2 separate regions of the Homo sapiens genome follow, and region 2 is linked to region 1. Evidence: promoter capture Hi-C in human tissues and cell types (Jung and others, 2019). All regions are on one chromosome and are shown on one strand. The core of a region is centred on a gene start or on the middle of the fragment in contact, and the rest is flanking DNA. Distances in the headings are between cores, read along the strand shown.

Region 1 (6,403 bases), core at 3,214-5,713:
CACTGCGCTCCAGCCTGGGTGACAGAGCGAGACTCCATCTCAAAAAGTAAAATAAAGACAGAACTTATAAATAAAGGGGAAATGGAACAGAAATATTTGGAAAACTCTCAGCCTGGCCATGTAAGAATAAAAAACATGTTCACGACAGACTATTGAGGGTGGCCAAGACACTGCTAAAGAGATGATGGATAGAAGGAAACCAGGTTCTTTCTATTCACCAAGACAATTAGACAATGACCCTGAAGGGTCATTACCCGGAGATCTTCAAGGTAAGCTAAGACTTTGAGGGCAAGGTTCCCAGAGAGGTGCCTGTGGGACTTCAGCATACACTGCCCTACATTGCCCTGGGACTCTGCTCCCCAAATTCTGGCACAGCACCCCACAGTTTGACCCACCATTCTGGAAGGTATAAGCTGCAAACCTTGGTGGCATGCATGTAGTGCTGACTCTGCAGACATGCAGAATGTACAAGCTGTGGGGCCATGGTGGCCTCCACCTAGATTTCAAAGGATGACTTGGACCGGCTAGGGGCTCAGGCAGACACTTGTCACAGAGGTGAGGCATGGGAGCCGGGGAGCCCCGATCCCCCAGAACTGTAGGGTCACTAGTGTGCAACTCCAACCTGGGAAAGCTGCAGGCATGAGACTCCAACCTCTGAGAGCTGCTGGGTGGACTGATCCCAGCAAAGCCATAGGGGAGGGGCTGCCTGAGGTCTTGAGGGGTCCAAGCCCCACTCCAGTGTGCCCAGATCGCAGGACAGGGAGTCAGAGGAGATTATTCACCAGTTTTAAGACTTAATGTTTTTTTTCCATTGATATAGTTTGGGTATTTGTCCCCTCCAAATCTCATGTTGAAGTGTAATCTCCAATGTTGGAGGCGAGGCCTAGTGGGAGGTGTTTGAATCATGGGGGTGGATCCCTAATGAATGGCTTAGTGCCATCCCCTTGGTGACCAATGAGTTCACTTGCGATCTGGTTATTTAAAAGTATAGGGCACCTCCCTGCTTTTTCTCTTGCTCGCACTCTCACCATGTGAGACATTTGCTCTCCCTTGTCCTTCCAACGTGATTGGAAACTTGCTGAGGCCCTCACCAGAAGCAGATGCTAGCACCATGTTTCTTGCACTGTCTGCAGAACCATGAGTGAATTAAATTTCTTTTCTTTTCTTTTTTTGAGACCGGTCTCACTGTGTTGCTCAGGCTGGAGCACAGTGGCAAGATCATAGCTCACTGCAGCCTCCATCACCCAGGCTCAAGTGATCCTCCTGCCTCAGCCTCCTGAGTAACAGGGACTACAGGCACACACCATCACACCCAGCTAATTTTTTTTTTTTTTTTTTTTTTTAGTAGAGATGAGGTCTCACTATATTGCCCAGGATGGTCTTAAACTCCTGAGCTCAAGCAATCCTCCTGCCTCAGCCTCCCAAAGTGCTGGGATTACAGGCGTGAGCCACCACACCGGCCTGTCTTTTCTTTATAAATTACCCAGCCTCGGGTATTTATTTGTGGCAATGCAAAAACAGCCTAACACATGCATGTTGGGTTCTAGATGTAGCTGGAACCAGTTACCCCTTTCTTCCTGCCTCTCTCTCCCTTTTGGAATGAAAATATCTCTCCTATGCCTGCCCCACCATTGTCTTTTGGGAGTAGATAGCCTGTTTTGATTTCACAGGTTCACAGCTGGAAAGGAGTCTGCCTCAGGCCAGCTATGCCTGCCTTGGAGTCTTAGCTTTATCTGATTTAGATGGGACTCTGGATTTGAACTTTTCAGTTGGTGCTGGAAGAGTTAAGCCTTTGGGGACTATTGGGATGGAATGAATGTATTTCACATGTGAGAAAGGCATGAATTTGGGGGGCTAAGACAGAATGCTATGGTTTGAATGTGTCCCCTAAAGTCCATGTGTTGGAAACTTAATCCCCAATGAAACAGTGTTGAAAGATGGGAGGGACTTTTAAGAGGTGAGGAGGTATGATGGCTTTGCCCTCATGAATGGATTAATGCTGTGATCTCTAGAGTGGGTTAGTTATCTTGAGAGTGGGTTCCTGAAAAAACAATGAGTTTGAACCCCTTCCTCTCTCTCCACCCCCACCTCTCTCTCTTTTCTTTCCCTATCTTCTCATTCTTTTGCCCCTCCACCTCTGCCATGGGAAGACACAGCAAGAAAACCCTCGCCAGATGCGAGCATCTTGATATCAGACTTCCCAGCCTCTAGAATTCTGAAAAATAAATTTCTTTTCTTTATCAGTTACCCAGTCTATGGTATTCTGTTATAGCAACACAAATGGACTAAGACAACTAATTTTCAGTTTTCAAATGCGCATCCCATCAAGTCCTTAAGTTTTATACAGTCCACATTTAATTTCTGCTGCAACAAGACTGTCTGATGAGTAGCAAAAACTGAAGGACAGTGTTCAATGTTAAGGCCATGCAGACTAATATAGATAACCTGAACAGAAAAAGAGATATTTTACACAGTGATGAGATGGTTTCATTTTTGCACACATGAGCAAATGCAACACATTCTCTGTGACAACTTTGGTTTGAAAGTTCTATCCTGCACCAGTCCTAGAACAATTTCCACTGGTCCAGGATGTCAATGCTCAGACACAGTACTGCATGGAATCAGGTGCAGGATTGAGAACAGGGCATGCTTTAGAAAAAGCAAAAGCTATTTCCAGGACTATCTGCTATGCTGGTTCAGCTTTGCCAAGCAATATTCAAATACTCATGGAGCAGCACATACTATGAGCAAAGTACTTAGTATTGTAGAAATGCAAAAGAAGAAGAAGAGGAAGAAAAGCTTAAACTGTTTATAATCCCCAAAGAAGTTTACAATCTGCTTAGAAAAATTATTTTACTATGCAAACAGCTGAGCCTGGCTGAAGCATCTGTTTGGGAGAGGAATGGAGAGAAGACTGGGAAGTCCACAGTTAGATTGTGTGGGGCAGGACAGAGCACCCAAGATTTACCGCATAGGGCACATCTGGGCAGTGTGAGGATGTCTAACAAAAAAGCCTAGAGATGCTCGGCGCGGTGGCTCACGCCTGTAATCCCAGCACTTTGGGAGGCTGAGGCAGGTGGATCACCTGAGGTCAGGAGCTCCAGACCAGCCTGGCCAACATGGTGAAACCCAGCTCTACTAAAAATACAAAACCTAGCCAGGCATGGTGGTGCGGGCCTGTAATCCCAGCGACTCGGGAAGCTGAGGCAGGAGAATCACTTGAACCCGGGAGGCAGAGGTTGCAATGAGCTGAGATCACACCACCACACTCCAGCCTGGGCAACAGAGCCAGACTTAGTCAAAATAAATAAATAAATAAATAAATAAATAAATAAATAAATAAATTTAAAAAGCCTAGAGATTTCTGTGTCTCTCCACTCTCCAAGTTCAAGGCCATTTCAGGGGCCTCCCCAAAGTTTTTAAAACTTGACTTGGGCAAATTCTTTAAGAACCTTGTTCTCCTCAAATAAAATATTTTGGAAAGCGGATTTTTATGAAGTCTTGGCTCAAATTCCATGACCTTTAACAGACATCTTAATTGTTTCGTGGGAGAATATGACCCAACAAGTGGCATATGGTTTAGGTGGGGACGTTTAATTACCGAACAGTTTTGTAGAATAAGCAAGTCACACATCTTTTGTCCGATGCGTGACAGGTTTGAACCTGTAAAGCCAGGTGCCTAAATAGCTTCCAACGTTTCCACCCCACCAGCCCTTGCACCACTCCCTGTACTGGCCCTGAGCTTTCTAGTCTTGACTGAAAAGCGGGGAGGCAATGTGGTCTCTCCTGGTGCACTGTCCCGAGGAAGGCCTGCTCCGCTTCCCCGGAGGAGTCTTCAAAGGATGGAGGTAATTAATAAAAACAACCCCTGTACCTCCTCTAAGTGGTCATTAATTAATAAAGAACCTCCAGGCTCCTATAGGAGAGGTCTGTGCACCCCGCGGGCTATGAGAAGGCTGGATCACCCAGAAAGACTGAGGATGTGTCCTGGCAAAAACACAGCCTGCCCCTCACACTGCTCCCCACGGGTGCACTAGGGAGGAAGAGTTCCCTCGAGGGCCTGAGCAGGCGCCCCACACCTGCACCCGTGCAGAGGGGGCTGGGCCCGCCCTCTGCGCTCCCGAGGGAGAGCCCTACCCCCTGCATCCCCGGTACCCCGTTCCCTCCAAGGGCCGGAAAGAGGGCCCCGCGCACTGTGCACTTCTTAGGGGTCCCCCACCCTGCGCCCCCGCCACGGGAAAAAGGTCCCCGCTCTGCGCATCCGGCCCCGGAGGGACAGCCCCGGTCCTGCACTCCTTGCTCCTCAGGGGGACGGTCCGCGCCCAGCGGCTAGTGCGCCCCGGGTAGGTGGGGGCGGGGGGCTCGTCGAGTGACAGCGCTCGCCTCCCGCAGCCCGCCCGAGCCGCGTCAGGGCAGAGGCGGGGTGGGGCGCGGTTAAAAGGCGCAGCAGGTGGGAGCCGGGGCCTTCACCCGAAACCCGACGAGAGCCCGACAGCCGGCGGCGCCCGAGCCCGACCTGCCTGCCCAGCCGGAGCGAAGGGCGCCGCCCCGCGCAGAGCCCGCGCCAGGGCCGCCGGCCGCAGAGCAGGTAAGCGGGCGCGGACCGGCTGGGTCTTGCGGGGGGCGAGCGGGCGGTGCCACCTCGGCCCCCCAGCGGAGGAATTTCCTCCAAGAAAACAAAACAGGTGAGGTCGGCGGCTGGTCCCCACCTCGCCCCTGTCGCTCCTGTCTGGCACCGGATCAGAGCCGGCAGAGCGCGGCCGGGATGGGTGTCTGGCCGCACGTGGGGCGACCGGGCCCCCGATCTGCCTCTATCCGCACCCTCCTGTCCACGCGCCCCGGCCCCGGCCCGATGGCAGTGGGCGCCGCCCGCGCTGGACCCTCTCTCTGTACGCAGAGGAACGAGGATGGACTGGTTTGACTTTTACCCCAGCGTGGTCCCCTTTGACTTGTACAACAGGTTTTATGAAGGTTTCATATCGTGTGTCTAAGAGGCCAGAGTGAGGGCCGGTGCCCCTTTCCCCCGTTTCATTTGCTGCGTGTTGGATTTTCTAAGCTTTTGTGGGTCACCGGGGTGTCCCCTTGGATTTGGGGAGAAGAAAGCCAGGTCTAGGATGCGGGTTTCAGTTCAGACAAACCCTCAACTTGGGCCGATGCATAAGTCCCCGGAGAACCGCAGGGTATGGGCTGCGTGATGGGCTTCCGAGAAACTTGTGAAATGCTGATGACAATAGCGTGGACGACAGTAATTAAAAGTAATTGGCGACACATCTTAGTTAAAACGTGCAGGCACCAGAAGGCACTTCCTGTCGGTGAAGAAGACCTGTCTCCGGTGTCACGGGCATCCTGTGTTTTGCAAACGGGGCTGACCTCCCTTCCTGGGGAGCAGGAAGGGTCAGGGTGAGTGTGGCCTGCCCGCAGCTCTGCACTCCCGGAGGGGTTAGGGACCTGCAACCAGGCGGGGACACTGGCCCAGCGACCTCAGTGTCCCCTGGGTGGGCGTGCACTCTGTTTAGTGTCTGATTGAACGTAACCGTGCCGGGTTGTTCTTTTCCCTCAAGTAGACTTTATGCCATACAGCTATTTTCTTGCCCCAGTTCTAGCAGAATCTAACCAGTGTTCTAGAAGAAAATGTCCTGCCCCCATGCAGTCTCCTTAGAATTGCAGGGTGCTGCTCAGAACTGCTCCTGTGGAGAGCTTTGTCTGTTGTTTGGATCCAGCAGCGTCTTTGGGGGTGTTGCTTGAAGCTTGCCAAGGAGGAGAGGGGGGTTCTGAAGAGAGAACACCAGGGCTCTAGCCTGTCACATAACTGGGGGTGTGGAGAGCGCCTCATTGCCACTGCAGTGACTAAAGCTGGGAAGACGCTGGTCAGTTCACCTGCCCCACTGGTTGTTTTTTAAACAAATTCTGATACAGGTAATGATGACTTTATGCTTTTTTTCTTATGTCTTCTCTTCTGAATTCTGAGTGTTAGGAAGGAAAAGAAGTACAGAAGATCTGGCTAAACAATTTCTGTATGGCGAAAGAAAAATTCTAACTTGTACGCCCTCTTCATGCATCTTTAATTCAATTTGAATATTCCAGGTGCTGTGAGCAGTTTGCATATATTAGTTTAAATGTTAAATGGGATAAAATTGTGGGAAAGTGATTTCTGACCCAAGCTTCTTGGTCTGTGAGGGCATAACCTTCTAATGGCCACCTGCCATAGGTTATGATTTCTGTTTTAGTTGCTTAGTGCATGAGCATAGACCTGGAACCCCAGAGGGCCTGCTCCATTTTTATTCCCAGGGTCATTTAAATCTAGTTGAGCTTAAATGTTTGGAAAGGACACAGGTTTGCTTGAATGAACAAACATATATTGCTAACAAGACCCAGAGAAGGAAAGTTTAACTTAATGGAAATT
Region 2 (6,403 bases), core at 1,997-4,496, 43 kb after region 1:
GCCACCAAACGTTTTAAATTCACCGAAAGCTTAGCTTCGAAGCAAAGCTCCGTTTCGCCGGTGAAGCAGGAAGCCTTCGCTGCAGGAACTGACCTTTACCTCTTGGAGCGGCTTCTGCAGAAAAATCCCCGGGCAGAGATTTGGGCGGAGTTTGCCTAGAACTAACGCGGAGCCAGCCGATCCCGGCCTACCCCGGGGCCAAGATTTCAGTGGCTTCCCTTTTTCCTAAACACTTCACGAGGGTCTGTTTCCGGGCTGTGCTCCCCGCCTAGAAGGAAAATTTTTAGGACCCTTGTTCGCGAAGAGGTGGTGTGCGGCTGAGACCCGCGTCCTCAGGACGGTTCCATCAGTGCCTCGATCCTGCCCCACTGGAGGAGGAAGGCAGCCCGAACAGCGCTCACCTAACTAACAGCTGCTGAGAGCTGGGTTCCGTGGCCATGCACCTGGGACTGCCTTGAGAAGCGTGGTACGGCCGTGTCCCCATGTGACCTTAGAGTCCCTTTCGAAACTGCTGTGCACAGTCGGTCACAATTTCAGACACTGGTGAGAAGGGTGGAGGAACCCTCTGGGGACAGCCAGGCAAGGTCGACCACCCATCACCTAAGGGTGGAGAAATTTAAGGGGTGAAGAGTCCCTTTTGCCTTTTCTGGATCCTGGTGATTCACCTAGTGTCTTCCCTAAGGAACTGAACCAACTCCTCCGCTGGCCTCTGGCAGCCCTCCAGGCGGTGCAGGATGGCGTGGGCCCGGTAGGAAGCTGCATGTAACCGCCCAGGGTCGGGAGGCCAGGAGGGCAGCTCCTCCTCTGACTTGAATATTGAAAACAACTTCGTCCTGCTTCTGAGCCCCTCTTAACCCATGACCCCCTAGCCCATTGGGGAGTAAATCTTAATTTACTCCTCTTCCTGAAAAAGGATCTTTAAAACAGGTAGCTTCAACTCAAGCTTTATAAAATAACAATATAGGGTTTCTCGGAACTGTATTTTTCTCAGCTGATGGTAACTGGACAGGTCTGTAGAAGGGTGTATGACCTGGGTTTGGCAGGTGGAAGAGGGCAAAGGATAAACCCCTCCTCCTGCAGCCCCATATTCTTGGCCAGGTGTATTGTTGTAAACCAGGAGAGAGTTTACTTCGGGGAGTATCCTGTTTTCCACTCAGTGAGGGCCAATGAAGAATGTCTAATTCCATAAGATGCTTTTGTTAAAATCGGAATGTTGCTGTCCTCGGTGGTTCTGCTGTTGGGACGGGACTGGCCTGAGCTGTGGGTGCTGTAGCAGGACAACCAGCTCACCTAAGGGCCTCCCAGTCTGGATTATCAATGGGTCAGTGCTGAACCTGGGCTAAAATATTGTTTTTTCCAATGATGTTGTCTTTCCCAAGCTCAGTGAAGCTAAATGTTTCACAGGCCTATGTCAATCTGATGTAACTTTCGTGGCCACCTCTCTCCTGTTAGCCTCTGACCAAGGTGGCACTGGATGGTTTCTGCCTGACCTTGGTGCCCCGTGGCAGCGACTGTGGGTCATGAAAGACATTCACTACGAGCCTGCTTCTGGAGTCCATCAGAAAACGGGATGCAACTTGCCTAAAATGAGGAGAGGAGGATGCTTTTAAGAAAAAGAAGAAGGAGGATTCACTACCAGCTCTGAAGGGTGGAAAAGAGATGATTCATCCGGATTGTGGAGAGGGTGGAATCTTGTTTAGGAGAGCGTTGGTTGTGGCAGGCAGGGTGTAACTATGAATCAGTGAAGACAATTCACATCCTGGGATGAAAAGAAGGCCATGGGCTCACAGGAGATTATCCACTGGCCTCTCCACATCCGCTTGCAGTAAGGAGTGTGGGACTCTCCCAAGCTTCAGCGCTGAACTGCAATGCAGTGACGTCGCTTAGCTGGGCCAGTAACCGAGGGAGTTGAATTTTCTGTCATTTTAAAATAATGTGTCTTTTAAGAAACACTTTGAAATTAAAACCACAGCCCACAATTATAATGCACTGTTGCAGCACTTATCAAAACAGATATGCTAACTGAGCCATCAGTGCCAGCCTGACAGTGAGGCCACCAAGCCATCCACAAAGCCTACACGAAAGTCTGTGCTCACAGTGGCTTTTCTCCATGAAGAGGGCATTCCTAACCTCTTCCTTTCACGTAGGAGGAAGCAAGGTCCTTTGTAAAATTTTAACTCGGGGTGCCTCAAATGTAAACTTAACCACTGGTAACAACAGTTTCACTGCTACATGCCACGTCTGTGAAAATTCATTCAAGACATTAAGGAAAGTGGCTCAGCAGAGAGACTAGACATCTTATCCTCACGGTTCTCCTGTACTTGGCCTCTCAGCCTTTGAGCAAGGTTGGCCCAAGCTAGTATCGGCCCCAGTGGTACAGCCAAAACTTGAGACTGCAAATGGATGCAGCTGTTGAACGCTGAGTAACTTCTGCAGAGTCAGGAAGACCCAAGGAAGCTCTGCAGAGGATGCAGGGGTACGGTCAGAACCCCTGAGTGCCTTTCAGCTAACGAGGACTTTATGACACTCCCCAGCACAGCAAATTTTTATGATGTGTTTAAAGATTGGGTGAATTACTCAGGTGAACAAGCTACTTTTTATCAGAGAACACCTAAAAACACGTTCAAGAGGGTTTGGGAACTATACATTTAATCCTATGACAAACTAAGTTGGTTCTGTCTTCACCTGTTTTGGTGAGGTTGTGTAAGAGTTGGTGTTTGCTCAGGAAGAGATTTAAGCATGCTTGCTTACCCAGACTCAGAGAAGTCTCCCTGTTCTGTCCTAGCTAGTGATTCCTGTGTTGTGTGCATTCGTCTTTTCCAGAGCAAACCGCCCAGAGTAGAAGATGGATTGGGGCACGCTGCAGACGATCCTGGGGGGTGTGAACAAACACTCCACCAGCATTGGAAAGATCTGGCTCACCGTCCTCTTCATTTTTCGCATTATGATCCTCGTTGTGGCTGCAAAGGAGGTGTGGGGAGATGAGCAGGCCGACTTTGTCTGCAACACCCTGCAGCCAGGCTGCAAGAACGTGTGCTACGATCACTACTTCCCCATCTCCCACATCCGGCTATGGGCCCTGCAGCTGATCTTCGTGTCCACGCCAGCGCTCCTAGTGGCCATGCACGTGGCCTACCGGAGACATGAGAAGAAGAGGAAGTTCATCAAGGGGGAGATAAAGAGTGAATTTAAGGACATCGAGGAGATCAAAACCCAGAAGGTCCGCATCGAAGGCTCCCTGTGGTGGACCTACACAAGCAGCATCTTCTTCCGGGTCATCTTCGAAGCCGCCTTCATGTACGTCTTCTATGTCATGTACGACGGCTTCTCCATGCAGCGGCTGGTGAAGTGCAACGCCTGGCCTTGTCCCAACACTGTGGACTGCTTTGTGTCCCGGCCCACGGAGAAGACTGTCTTCACAGTGTTCATGATTGCAGTGTCTGGAATTTGCATCCTGCTGAATGTCACTGAATTGTGTTATTTGCTAATTAGATATTGTTCTGGGAAGTCAAAAAAGCCAGTTTAACGCATTGCCCAGTTGTTAGATTAAGAAATAGACAGCATGAGAGGGATGAGGCAACCCGTGCTCAGCTGTCAAGGCTCAGTCGCTAGCATTTCCCAACACAAAGATTCTGACCTTAAATGCAACCATTTGAAACCCCTGTAGGCCTCAGGTGAAACTCCAGATGCCACAATGGAGCTCTGCTCCCCTAAAGCCTCAAAACAAAGGCCTAATTCTATGCCTGTCTTAATTTTCTTTCACTTAAGTTAGTTCCACTGAGACCCCAGGCTGTTAGGGGTTATTGGTGTAAGGTACTTTCATATTTTAAACAGAGGATATCGGCATTTGTTTCTTTCTCTGAGGACAAGAGAAAAAAGCCAGGTTCCACAGAGGACACAGAGAAGGTTTGGGTGTCCTCCTGGGGTTCTTTTTGCCAACTTTCCCCACGTTAAAGGTGAACATTGGTTCTTTCATTTGCTTTGGAAGTTTTAATCTCTAACAGTGGACAAAGTTACCAGTGCCTTAAACTCTGTTACACTTTTTGGAAGTGAAAACTTTGTAGTATGATAGGTTATTTTGATGTAAAGATGTTCTGGATACCATTATATGTTCCCCCTGTTTCAGAGGCTCAGATTGTAATATGTAAATGGTATGTCATTCGCTACTATGATTTAATTTGAAATATGGTCTTTTGGTTATGAATACTTTGCAGCACAGCTGAGAGGCTGTCTGTTGTATTCATTGTGGTCATAGCACCTAACAACATTGTAGCCTCAATCGAGTGAGACAGACTAGAAGTTCCTAGTGATGGCTTATGATAGCAAATGGCCTCATGTCAAATATTTAGATGTAATTTTGTGTAAGAAATACAGACTGGATGTACCACCAACTACTACCTGTAATGACAGGCCTGTCCAACACATCTCCCTTTTCCATGACTGTGGTAGCCAGCATCGGAAAGAACGCTGATTTAAAGAGGTCGCTTGGGAATTTTATTGACACAGTACCATTTAATGGGGAGGACAAAATGGGGCAGGGGAGGGAGAAGTTTCTGTCGTTAAAAACAGATTTGGAAAGACTGGACTCTAAAGTCTGTTGATTAAAGATGAGCTTTGTCTACTTCAAAAGTTTGTTTGCTTACCCCTTCAGCCTCCAATTTTTTAAGTGAAAATATAGCTAATAACATGTGAAAAGAATAGAAGCTAAGGTTTAGATAAATATTGAGCAGATCTATAGGAAGATTGAACCTGAATATTGCCATTATGCTTGACATGGTTTCCAAAAAATGGTACTCCACATATTTCAGTGAGGGTAAGTATTTTCCTGTTGTCAAGAATAGCATTGTAAAAGCATTTTGTAATAATAAAGAATAGCTTTAATGATATGCTTGTAACTAAAATAATTTTGTAATGTATCAAATACATTTAAAACATTAAAATATAATCTCTATAATAATTTAAAATCTAATATGGTTTTAATAGAACAGCAAATTTTAATTTCATCTATCACTTTTTATATAAATACATTAATGTTTTATATTTCATAACACCAATGGGTAAGTTGCCAGAGTGTCTGACCCCATTCTGCCCCAGTTACAGAAAAGCTTCTGTCACCAGAAAGTTTGGTGGGGAAGGAAGGGAGGAAGATGATTTCTACCTAACCCCGTGCCCACCTCTACCAGGTTTTTGAGGCATATCAGTCTATGGACAATGTGGTGTTTGGTCTGGAAACGTACCTTGGTGAATGCTGAGTTGGCTGGACATGACCCGTTTAGCTCCTGGATGAATCCCAGAAGTGGACCTTCAAAATGTTACTCATAGCATGACCTTGGCTCACTGCAACCTCTGCCTCCCAGGCTCAAGCGATCCTCCCACCTCAGCGTCCCAAGTAGCTGGGACCACTGGAGTGTGCCACCACACTCCACTAATTTTTTCATTTTTTGTAGAAACGAGGTCCCACTATATTGCCCAGTCTGGTCTCGAACTCCTGGGCTGAAGGGATCCCCCTGCCTCAGTCTCCTAAAGTGCAAGGATTACAGGCATGGGCCACCGCACCTGGCCTGAAACTGCTTTTTATTCCTCAGTGCCCACTTCCATGGGAAATAAGCCTGCCAGGTCAGCCTGTCCCCATGGGAGTGACTGCCTGCTACCCCCACAGGCTTGCCCGGCCCTCGTGAGCCTCTCCCAGAGACACCACCAACAGTTCTGTTCTTTCATGGTACAAGATTTCCATCCAAGGATTTCAAAGCATTTCACACATCAATAATTAGAAGTATTTTCATAGAGGACCATACACTTTTAAAATGGATTTCAAAGAACAAAAACCAGTCAACTATCACCCAGGTAATAGAAAATGGGAAATGGTTTCTACCTGACTTCCAAAATGCTCTGCACATAGACTGTGAAAATAGGATTTTTTAAGCTGGGTGCAGAGGCTTATACCTATAATCCCAACACTTTGGGAGGCTGAGACGAGAGGATCACTTGAGCCCAGGAGTTCAAAACCAGCCTGGGCAATATAGGGAGACATTGTTTCTATAAAAAATAAAAATGTTAGCCAGGCAGGCGTGGTAACATGTGCCTGTAGTCTCAGCTACTCAGGAGGCTGAGGTGGGAAGATTGCTTGAACCTGGGAGGTCCATGCTGCAGTGAGCTGAGATTGTGCCACTGCACTCCAGCCTAGGCGACAGCAAGATCCTGTCCCAAACAACAACAACATCAAAAAACACAGAACTTTTAAAATAAGTACATTCACTTCTACAAGCTATGTAGATTATTACTCTCAAGCTATTAAAAGACCAAGCCAAAATAATTATGGGCTACTCTCGACCACTTGTAGGAATGGATAGAGAGGTCTGGTCACATGCCTGGAAATTAGAGCTTGAGCTCTGAAAATGATAAT

The links. The method cuts DNA at HindIII sites, captures the fragments that hold promoters and counts their contacts. A contact is called where the count stands out against the background at its distance.
Region 2: a contact is called between a fragment that was not itself captured here and the fragment with the promoter of GJB6 in region 1, in 5 of the 25 tissues and cell types used here (H1 embryonic stem cells, lymphoblastoid cells, mesenchymal stem cells and 2 more).

The regions. Positions count from the first base shown.
Region 1 is chr13:20,230,379-20,236,781 of GRCh38, reverse strand. It overlaps GJB6 (gap junction protein beta 6), which reads left to right and starts at 4,463. Exons shown (of 5, transcript NM_001110219.3): 1 at 4,463-4,588; 2 at 5,277-5,400; 3 at 5,975-6,084. The HindIII fragment of the contact is 5,298 bases long and covers 105-5,402 here.
Region 2 is chr13:20,186,024-20,192,426 of GRCh38, reverse strand. It overlaps GJB2 (gap junction protein beta 2), which reads left to right. Exons shown (of 2, transcript NM_004004.6): 2 at 2,824-4,957. The coding sequence starts at 2,846. The coding sequence ends at 3,526. It overlaps LOC107984553 (a long non-coding RNA gene), which reads left to right and starts at 6,236. Exons shown (of 3, transcript XR_001749956.2): 1 at 6,236-6,403. The HindIII fragment of the contact is 5,520 bases long and covers 487-6,006 here.